3 separate regions of the Homo sapiens genome follow, and all the other regions are linked to region 3. The links are contacts of gene promoters, found by promoter capture Hi-C in blood cells and fetal thymus (Javierre and others, 2016). All regions are on one chromosome and are shown on one strand. Each heading gives the region's core, a stretch centred on a gene start or on the middle of the fragment in contact. The rest is flanking DNA. Distances are from core to core; before and after follow the strand shown.

Region 1 (3,718 bases), core at 303-2,802, 460 kb before region 3:
GAACCCGTCCGTCTCCTTCCAGAGGACTAATCGCAGAAGCAGGGCCCTAGGCCTTAGTTATGTAACGGGAGAGAATCCCTGACTGGGAGGCTCCGTGGCCCTGAGAAGCGGCTGGACTCTCCACTTTTTGCTTCTTCGTCGGGAGGGCGTGGGGCGGCGAGGGAGGGAGACGTCCGATGTTGTTGGGAATCCTGCCTCCGTTCGGATTGGAGCTAGGGCAAGGATGCCGCTGCTCTCCTCTGAGTCTTTTTCCGTGTGGGGGTGCAGAGCTGTCGCCTCTTTACTGTACTTTCCCGTTTCTTACTCGGGATTGGTTCATCCTAGCTCTCCAGTTGTAAGAGAGCATTCATAATAACCAAGAAAGAAAATAGAACTAAACTGCTAGAGCAACAAAAAGCATCTCACCTGGGCATTAACCTGAGGAAGTCTCATATTTTTGAGGAAAAGCATAGGAAAACTTTGTGTATGTAGAGTCGTTGCAGAATATTTGCAGAAAGTTGCCTGGTAAGGCAAAGTGCTCCAGCTCACTGTTAGTATCAATAATTTACTTGGGATTTGCACTTAATCAGGAGTGATCGATTTCCCCTTTTCTTCCTCATCCTGTTCTAATTAAACAACTTTATGGCTAGTTTTTAATTCATAAAGTTTTTGTCTGGTCTTTTGTTTGCTCAGACGACTTTGACTTTTTTTTTTTTTTGAGACGGAGTCTCGCTGTGTCGCCAGGCTGGAGTGCAGTGGTGCGATCTCCACTCACTGCACCCTCCCGCCTCCTGGGTTCAAGCAATTTTCGGGCCTCAGCCTCCCGAGTAGCTGGGATTACAGGCACTCACCACCAGGCACTCACCACCACACCTAGCTAATTTTTGTATTTTTAGTAGAGACGGGGTTTCACCATATTGGCCAGGCTGGTCTCGATCTCCTTACCTCGTGATCCGCCCACCTCGGCCTCCCAAAGTGCTGGGATTACGGGCGTGAGCCACCGCGCCCAGCCGACTTTGACTTTTTACATTATTTTTGGACTTTTACTCATTTAATGGTAGTTATTCAGAAAACTATTTTTCATTCAACTCCACGATGTACTTGAACTTTTAAATTTAACACACCTATTCCCTTGGCTTTTAACCCAGTTTTGTACCATTTCGTGAGAGCAAGTGAGGTTTTTGCAGATTGGTACTATTGTACAAAATGTACACTTAACATTTTAAAGCTTAACCATAATCTAGATGAATTTTGGATGGATCTACTTACTAATAATCTAGATTAATTCCCAAGTGGGCATTGTGTTTCCCTAGGTAGTTGTTTACTTGGTTACTAGGAAGAAAAGTATAGGCGTAAATGCTTAGTTTCGTCAGCCTTTTATTTTGTTTCCCAGAAGCGTCTAGGAAGCATTTTGAAATTTATTGTAGACTGATGGAAGAGCAACATAAAGAAATAATTATAAAATGTAGAATTTATTGCTCCATTTTGAAGTCAGGTTATTTAAGAGATACATAAAGAAATGAAGGACCTAGGATACAAATAGATTCTTTTATTTCATGTTCATACTAGGACATTATTTGTCTTTTTCACTGTCATTCTTTCATGAGTGTTCAATGGACGTTTCTAGAAACTAACATGACTTGTGATAAAACAAATTAAATGTGGAAGCAGATGTGAAAATCCAGCTGTTTAGCTGTTTTTATTAAGCCAGACATTAAAGAGATTTGCAAAAATGTGTAACAGTCCCACTCTTTCATTAATTTTGTTTTGAAAAATATTTTTAATAAAAATATATATTTGTTAACATATAACAGGTTTGTTGGTATTTTAAAATGAATTAATATTTAAGACATTTCTCAGTTTTCAGTGTTTAATACTGTAAACATCAATAGATGTAACCAACCTAACAAAAGCTTTATGGGATTCTAAATAAATTTAAGTGTAAGATTCCTGAGAACAAAAAGTTTGAGAACTGTTGCTGTAGGCTGATTGACCAACATCATTAGGACTCGCCGGGTGCAGTGGCTTAAGCCTGTAATCCCAGCACTTTGGGAGGTCAAGTTGGGTGGATCACGAGGTCAGGAGTTCTAGACCAGCCTGACTAACATGGTGAAACCCCGTCTCTACTAAAAATACAAAAAATAGCCAGGCGTGGTGGTGCGCACCTGTAATCCCAGCTACTCAGAAGGCTGAGGCAGGAGAACTGCTTAAACCCGGGAGGCGGAGGTTGCAGTAACTGGAGATCACTCCACTGCACTCCAGCCTGGGCGACAGAGTGAGACTCCGTTTAAAAAAAAAAAAAAGACTCAGTACATTGGCCGGGTGCAGCGCCTCACACCTGTAATCCTGGCACTTTGGGAGGCCTAAGTGGGGGAGGATTGCTTGAGCCCAGTTTGAGACCAGCCTGGGCAATATAGAGAGACGTCGTCTCTACAAAAAATAAAATTAGCCAGGCATGATGGCCTGTACCTGTAGTCCCAGCTACTCAGGAGGTTGATATGGGAGGATCACCTGAGCCTGCGAGGTCGAGGTTGCAGCAAGCCAAGATCATGCCACTGTACTTCAGCCTGGGCGATAGAGACCCTGACTCAAAACAAAGAAGACCCAGTACAAGTTCAGTGTTGAGTGCTAAAGACTTAAAAGAGTTATAAAGCTGAACCCTTAATCTTAAGAGGTTTATAAGTGAGAACAAGAATCTCCAAATCCTGTACTGTTTAATATCAGCATGAGACTAAACCACTGTCCTAAGAAGACAACCTTAATTTGAATCAAGTTATTTTAGAGTGATGTGTTTTCTGAGGCAGCTCTCAGAAGGTTATTGTCTGGTGTTAAAATAGTGAAATTGAGTAATAACAAGGTTAAAATCGGTGGACATTAAATACACACAAGACTTCAATTGCTGGGTCCTCCATTGATTAATGAAAAAATGATTGTTTTTGGAATTTGAGTGAAACACTTCTTAATGGCTGAGTAGGGTGGCTTACGCCTGTAATCCCACCACTTTGGGATCACTTGAGGCCAGGACTTTGAGACCAGCTTGGCCAACATGAGGAAAGCACGTCTTTACTAAAAATACAAAAATTAGCTGGGCCTGGTGGCTCATGCCTGTAATCCCAGCTACTTGGGAGTCTGAGGCGAGAGGATCGCTTGAGCTTGGGAGGTGGAGGTTGCAGTGAGCGGAGATCATGCCACTGCATTCCAGCCTGGGCGACAGAGCAAGACTCTGTCCCAAAAAAAAAAAAAAAAAAAAAAGAAAAGGAAAAAAAACAAAAAACTTTTTTTTTTTTTTTTTTTTGAGACGGAGTCACAAAAAATTAGCCACCATGCCCAGCTAATTTTTTTGTATTTTTGGTAGAGACAGGGTTTCACCATATTGGCCAGGCTGTCTCGAACTCCTGACCTTGTGATCCGCCCGCCTCGGCCTCCCAAAGTGCTGGGATTACAGGCGTGAGGTGCCGTGCCTGGCAAAAAAAAAAAAAACACAAAAAAACCCACTTCTTTATAATTTTAACAATTCCAACATCATCTAGTAGATTTGTGTACCATTATTAAATAATCCTTTAAAATAAGTTCTAAACCTAAGGCCCATAGACCATAAAGACTGAAAGTTCGCTTACATTGTATGGAGTGTTTTGTGAGTATTTGTGCATACGTATTTTTTTTTTTTTAAGATAGAGCATTGCTCAATTGCCCAGGCTGGAGTACAGTGTGGTGTGATCTCGGTTACTGCAACCTCTGC
Region 2 (3,633 bases), core at 1,131-3,630, 330 kb after region 3:
ATACCTTTTCCCTTTGAATATTTTTGAATATAATTTCTTTATCCATTATCATAATAGCCAAGTAAAAAGTAGTTAGACCTTACAAAGAAACTGAAAGAAGATATTTTTACATATGCTGCTCCTTTGAAAACAGCATTTCTTAGTTCTCAAATAGAGGGTAAAACTTGAATGGGGAGGAATCCTTAAGTAAAAGTATCAACTTTATCCCAACTGCACAAATTTCTCGTTTAAGGAAAAAAAGTAAATATTTCGATTCAAAGAATTTAAAATATTTCACCATTGCAGAAAAATGTGATTTAAAGTTACAATCATTAACGATATAAATCACCCATTATCACATTCTATTATTTTTCACAAAACCCATAATTATGGAATAATAGGCTAAGATATTCTTTTTCCAAAATTTGAAAGCCCTGGGCAACACACAGCCCTTTGAATCTCACAATTCTCGCCTATCAAATGAAGGGAATAGACTGAATGCCCTTTCACATCTTTTCCAACTTAAAAATTGATATAAAATTGTAAATCTTAAGTAATCCTTTAGAGTAAGGGTCGGCAAACTATGGTCCATGAGCCAAATCTGACCCACCACCTGTTTTTGTGAGTAAAGTTTTACTGGAACACAGATACATTCATTCATTCATTTATATATTGCCTATGGCTGCTTTCATGCTAGTATTTCAGCAGAAAAGTAGCTGTAACAAAGACCAAAGGGTCTGTAAATACTATCTGGCCTTTACAGAAAAGCTTGCTGATCCCTCCTTTACAGAATAAAACATTTCACCTCCGTGTATTTTCCAGATATATAAAGCTTCTCTTTCAAGTGGTAATGCTTTACTTTAAACATGTAAGTAACTGTGTTATGTATTTTCCATATTACTAACAATCCAGTCTTCTAACTTCATAGTTCTGCCTCTCAGCCTTGGTAATTGATAGAATAGATTGGCAGGTATGAGTCTGGCTCCAACTTTTTGCAATCTTGGACAAACTGAAAATGAGGATAATGCCACCTGCCCTGCTAAACTTACACAATTTGAAACTATGAAAGAAATATATGAAAGTATTTGTAAACTATAAATCATCATACAAATATACTCATCCTTTTTTTTTTTTGAGACAGGATCTCCCTCTATCACCCAGGCTGGAATGCAATGGCATGATCACAGTTCACTGCAGCCTTGATCCCTTGTTCAAGGGATCCTCCCACCTTAACCCTCTGAGTAGCTGAGACTACAGGCATATGACACTACGTCTGGCTAATATTTTATACAGACAGGATCTCACTATGTTGCCTAGGCTGGTGTTGAACTCCTGGGTTCAACTGATTCTCTAGCCTTGGCCCCTAAAAATGCTGGGATTACAGGTGTGAGCCACTACACGTGGTCTACTCATTACTTTTTTAAAAACCACATTTTAATATAAGTATTCCCTATTCAAATATTATTATTATGTATAAAACAGGATGAAAGTCCTCAAGCTACTTAATCTAAAGTAGATACCACGGATCTAAATATAAATAGAAAACCAGTTGGCAGCTATACCTCATATATACATTGATCCAAATGATTTTATTTCGGTTAAGTCAAAGGGGTTATTTTTAATACTGTTTGGCTTGCTTTTGGTCAGATGGAAATTTGTAAAAGGAATTTCTGAAAGATTTAAAAGATAAGGCATAGCTAACTGGTGTGGGTGGCATATCAAAGTATAACACCTATGAGAAAAAGTAGATATGGGACAAAAGATTAGAATAATGAACATATTGAAGTATACGAGAAGTTCTTTATGAAAGAAAGAAAAACTCAATGAGAATGTAATTCATTTCTCAAGTCCAGAAGTCAATCAGGTCAAAACAATATCTCAGAGCATAAGAATATCCCATCAGAATATGCCTTTTATTATGGCTTGGCATTAACATCCAACTACTCTGACAGAACAAAATCAGATCTATATTTACAAAAACTTACCAAAAGAGACATTGAATCACTTTAGTTCACACAGAAAGTGACAAAAATCCATCTATTCCAAAGAAGGCTTTTGTTTTATCTTCCTTTCAAGATGCAGATATATCCTACTATAAAAAACAAAAGCAAAATAATTTAGATTCACATAAAAGTTCCTTAAAGAACCAGTTGCCTTAAACCCATCCAATATTTAGGCAGCTATTCCCTGATACCCAATATTTAGGCAGCTACTCCTTGACACAAGGAGACATTCCTGAAAAGTATCTTTAAAGAGCATTTATTTTTTACTGAACATTATTTGTGATCTGACATCACAACCAAGAAGCAGAGTGAAAACAAAAAGAAGTCCTGAATATTTCCAAAGCCTCAATATGTTTGCATTTCTCCTTCCCTATCTTTTCTATACTGTTTTTTGTTTGTTTTTTAAAGAACGCTGAGCAAATTTGAAAGCAATGTAGAAAACCAATTTTTGGCCCACTTTTGATATAAACAGTGTCACTTACAATAAACCCCAAGAATTTTCAATGGTTCCACATATTACAACTAAACTTTGAGACTTTCCAAAGCCCTTTCTTATTGGATTAATTACGTATTAAATCATTTGGGGTCCCTGACCAGCAAATATGGGAAAGAATCAGAATAACAGACTAGGAAATTAATTCAAGGAGATACAAAAGCACCATCCACGGTTTCCAGACCTTTACTAATAGAAAGGGTGGCAATCTTGTAAGTTTGTGGGTTCAGAGCATCCCTTTACATCTAACCAACATCATCTCTTTCATCTAAATTGTGCTTCATTATTTCAACTCCCCAAATTTGATGAACCCATCTACAAATATGTGAGCAGGATGAGAAAGGGAAGATTTTGTAAACCATAAAAACCATAAAGCAATATCCAATTTTATTGCTAAAGAAAGAGGTGAATTTATTCAGGATGTTCACTATGAACCAAAGGTAGAGATTGGGAGGAAGACGGACCTGAAAGGCTGTGATCATTTAGCCACCTACCATTCATTACCGTCAATTTAAAGCACTGGAGTTTGCTGTGCTGCAAAAGGAGGAAAGCAATGCCTGCCCTGCCAACCTTCCAGGGTGAATGAAATCAAATGAGTTACATCTCAAAGTGCCCCTAATTAGCAAACACTGTATCAGCTTGAACTATGCTTTGAAAGGTACACTCAAATGTACTGATGGCAGTACAAAACTATAAGGTTTATTTGGAAAGCAGGTTGTCAAATGTTTCAATAACCATGAAAATATTCATACTTTTTGACCCAGTAAAATTCCCCGGAGTGATCTATTCTAAGGAGATATCCAAGTAAATGAAGAAACTACACATCATAGTCAATACACTGTTAATCTGTTAACAGCCAAGTAATCATTACACAAGTGTTTAATGAGTGGTTACCATGGGTCAGGCACTGTGGACACCCGCTGGTAATCAGGGCAGACAAGACCCTGGCCACTTGTAGCTGACCTTCCCACAAGCAGAAGGGTTATGGATGTCATGATTAACCAAATTTTCTGGTTATCATGATTTTGTATCCTGCTTTTTTCACTCAATGTCAGCAAGTTGTTACTGATTTTGTCTTAATAATGTGAAACTCCATTACGTTGTCTATTTTTTTCTCTTTTTCAGAAAAGCTCAGAAGAAACAGACACAATCTGGTAA
Region 3 (3,745 bases), core at 97-2,596:
GAGACTCCCTCTAAACAAAACAAAACAAATCAAAACTGGTTGCAGGTAGGTTTTGTGGTAGTGGCTGATGGGATTTGGGATTTAAGGAAATTCACCTCTAGTGGTCTCACTTTCCTCAGAGATGTAAGAGACAAAATTTTTTATTTTTATTTTTACCAAAGCGGGTGAGTGAGTAGAGTTCAGTAAGAGGTTAGAAGAGCGTGAGGGCTGGGAACAGCAGGGGAGGGGAATAGGAGATAATCTGAGTAGCAATGTGTAAATGTGACTGTCTTAGGCTCAGCAATATTGCGTAGTCGCACGTGGAAGTCCCGACTGAAGTTGGACACTTTTCGTTCGCAGTGGTGCCAATTCTCAGGGTTGTGTGATTTTCTGCACCGATGCAGGAGTGAGCAAGGTTGGTTGAACTGTTGCAGACTAACAGTTTTGCAGGTGGGCGAAGGATCAGGGAGGAAATTGAGTTGAGGGTGTTGGTGAATAGGATATAGGAGTTTCAGAACCCGACTACACATCTGTCGTTGATGGTCTAAATATTTGCATGTTTGCAGGTCCAGCGATGGCACAATGCCTAGCAGCAGAAGGTTTGCACCCACTGTGCGACATGAGTGGCAGCTCTGGAAAATCATAAAATCATGGGAGGACTTGAGAGTGCAGGCTGGGTGGGGTGGGACTGTGGCTGCGAAAAACAGTGTTATGAAACTGTGCGCGGGACAAGAAAGCTGATTTTACTGATTGTATATTGGGGAGTACTACGGGAATCACTGGAGAGGCCACTTCATTTTCTCCTATCCCACCCCATCTTTTGGGGTTGCAACTAACCAGTAAGTTTACACATTGAGGATACAATGGCGAAACGGGGCCGCGAGGCGATGACGTCATTCGCGGGAGTAGGGGGGAGAAGCGACCACTGTTAGGGTACTGTCCATAAAGGCAATTTGAAAATATTTCAGCCTTTTTACTTTTATACTTCCGGCCCTTGCAGTTTGAGGTGGTAACAAACGACTGCTGCTCCCAACCACTTTCACCACCGCCTGTTACCATGGGAGCGCTCGGGTAGCTAGGCTTGGACGACTCTATTCTACGTCATCATCAAAGCGCATCTCAGGACTGATAGCTCCGCCCTAAACTAAGGGAGAGACTGTGCTCCCAAGTACGTAGCCTGCAGTGCCTAACGCATTCTCAGCAATTTTGACCCCCAACAGACGCCGTCGACAGTCTCCCAAGAACAATTCCCAGGAGCTCGGATTCCAAGAGCCGCCCGCGCCCTCGTTTACCTTCGCTAGTCGCCCTGCAGCCCCGCCCTGTCCGGAGGCCCCGCCCTCCATGAATCAGCTGATCCCGCGGACCCACTGGGTTGCCAAGCTCGCGCCGGATGCGGAGCGCGGTGCTGCCGGTGGAGCTTCAGGTGAGCGAGTGTGGGTCCCGGGTTGGCTATTGGCTAAGGAGGGCTTATCGGCTGGGACCCCTTGTATGCGGAAGGCCGGGGACAGGGAGCTAGGCGGAGGCTGTGGTCGAGGCCGGAGAGCGCCCTGCGGGGGGCCTGCGGAGACGGCGCCCGCATTTTCCCAGCTCTGGGTGCGATCGACTGCTCCTGCCGGTCCAGCAGCGCCCGAGGCGGCCCCTGCCTTGGCCCCAGGTTCTCCCACTTGCCCCGGTCTCTCCCTCCCCAGACTGGGCGCCGCTGCAGTGGTCTCAGCTGCGTGAAATTCCTTCAAGCCCCCTCTTCCCGCCTCCACCCACGCTGCCTTCCAGCTATTCATTCACGAGAATTTCTTGAATGCCCACACTAGGCGCTGAGCTGATAAACTGGGGTCCGTGGCCTGGAACCCTGCTGAGTGTCCCTGGCGGCCTTGCCACAGGGTGCAAATCGCGTTGAAGAGTGGACCAAGGGCTACTTGAAAAGGCGGTTGCGGAGAAAGAAAATAGCTTTGATAATAAGAATTAGTAGTTTAGGCAAGTCTTTGAGCCTATCAAGTAATTCATCAAGAGGAGAAGATAAGTTATTTTGAGAAGCGAAGCCAGAAAAATAACACAGGTCCTTGACGCTGGTGTTCGTCCTCGGATAATAGGGCTGCTTTGGAGACAGGCAACAGTAGACTGGTAGAATCGTTCTATTGCTTAAGGCTTTGATGGTGGAAGAGAAAAAACACTCTTGTTGAAGTGGCATATCCAAGAACAGTGCTTTCTTTCTGGTTTAGGATGGAGAAGGAACTGACTGCTGTACCCAAGTGAAGATCTTTACTCAGTTACCCTTATATTTGGCTATATGGAATAAAATTGTGTGATATGTTTATTCTGAGCAGGTACAAAACTTCAGCAAACCTATTGGTCCCACATTTTCCCCCCCATTTATCATATGATTTGGAGTGACCGGTTGACCTTTGAGTTAATGAATAATTTAAAGCAGTGAAAAATTTTTTGCAGTAAACTACGGTGTTTTAACCTTGATAACATAAGCATAGTGGTTAAGATTCTAGGCTTTGTATCTGAACATACCCAGAGTCACATCCATTTACATCTTTGATTTTGGGCAAGTTATTTAATCTCTCTGCCTCAGTTCTCTTGTCTCTAAATTGGGGATAAAAATGTTTTCCTGATAACAGTACCTTTACGTGTAATGGTTCATGTATCGTATTTATTACAGTGCCTGTTTTATGGTAAATATTCAATACATATTAGCTGTTTTTATAATTAATTCCTCCCACTACATCATGATCCAAACTGACTCTTTTCTTAAGTGATGGGGAAGGGAACTGAATATTTTAAGGAAGTAGCTATAAAATATGATTTCAAGTTGTTCTGTAGTAATTTTGGTGTTCCATAAGGACATTTTAATGTGAAAAAGATACTGACAGAATCTATACATGGTTTGAATTTATTAGTTTCTAAACTATGACCAGTATTAGCAGATTTAAAATTCATAATTATAGCAAGAAAACGTCAAAGTTGTTTAACAGTGTTAAAATTTGAAACTGTAATGATCCAGAAAAATGAAATACCAAACCGATAATTTTGGGAAAAAAACAAAACTTGAGTGGCATTATGCAGGCCATTTACTTTTTAAATGTACTCAATATAAACAGGAATCCCTTCTCTCCAAATTTCAGTTTTTCAGAATTTGGGCTGTCATTTGAAACACTTACTTTGGGCACTTTGACTGTTAAAGAAGCAAAGGGTATGCTAAGAACTTCAATGAGTCTTGATGTTAGTGTTTTTGTAATTAGGTGGAATCTCCTACCTTTTCATGAAAACTGGGTTTAAAGCAGTAGCTGCTGGGTCCATTCTAATGATAATCTCAAAAATGTGACTGACTTGTAAAAATCTACAATTATTTATTAATGTGAGACTAGGTAAAGTATGAGTTGAAAAACTAGGAAGAAAGGCAGAGTGGTGATTTTTAAGCTTGTATAAAGGAAGGCCCGCTTTGGGTACTATGAGGTACCTTTCTCACTCAGAGGCATGCTGTGAGGATTTGTGACTTTTAAATCATTTAGCTCTTTTTATAACTTTGTGGAATTAAATCTACCACGTATTTCAAGTGTATTCAGGATATGAATTTTCCTGGTAGAGAGTTTTAACAGATTTTTTTCTCTTAACCCTTCATTGATGACCAAACAATTTTGTTGTCTGTAATAAGAAAGTACTCGGTTTTGTAGGGTGTCAGTCCTTAAGAAAATGTTAGGTAGTCATCAATAAAATAGCAACAATCTCTGGCTTGTTTCTTTTTCATATTGCATTTAATTTTCCT

What was found. The method cuts DNA at HindIII sites, captures the fragments that hold promoters and counts their contacts. A CHiCAGO score of 5 or more calls a contact.
Region 1: a fragment that was not itself captured here is called in contact with the fragment with the promoter of ALS2 in region 3 in 2 of 17 cell types (erythroblasts and fetal thymus); the score reaches 7.6 in erythroblasts.
Region 2: a contact is called between a fragment that was not itself captured here and the fragment with the promoter of ALS2 in region 3, in 1 of 17 cell types (naive B cells). The highest score is 5.2, in naive B cells.

Annotation. Positions count from the first base shown.
Region 1 is chr2:202,234,379-202,238,096 of GRCh38, reverse strand. All of the region lies in intron 1 of SUMO1 (small ubiquitin like modifier 1), which reads left to right. Among named protein-coding and RNA genes, the nearest start is that of SUMO1, 2.4 kb to the left of the region's middle. RefSeq lists a silencer at 1-35. The HindIII fragment of the contact is 685 bases long and covers 1,210-1,894 here.
Region 2 is chr2:201,453,184-201,456,816 of GRCh38, reverse strand. STRADB (STE20 related adaptor beta) reads right to left here. Exons shown (of 12, transcript NM_018571.6): 2 at 1,965-2,071. The coding sequence starts at 1,976. Among named protein-coding and RNA genes, the nearest start is that of STRADB, 3.3 kb to the right of the region's middle. The HindIII fragment of the contact is 3,133 bases long and covers 814-3,633 here.
Region 3 is chr2:201,778,534-201,782,278 of GRCh38, reverse strand. ALS2 (alsin Rho guanine nucleotide exchange factor ALS2) reads left to right here and starts at 1,346. Exons shown (of 34, transcript NM_020919.4): 1 at 1,346-1,402. RefSeq lists enhancers at 987-1,056, 1,067-1,296, 1,307-1,376 and a silencer at 1,507-1,676. The HindIII fragment of the contact is 4,023 bases long and covers 1-3,401 here.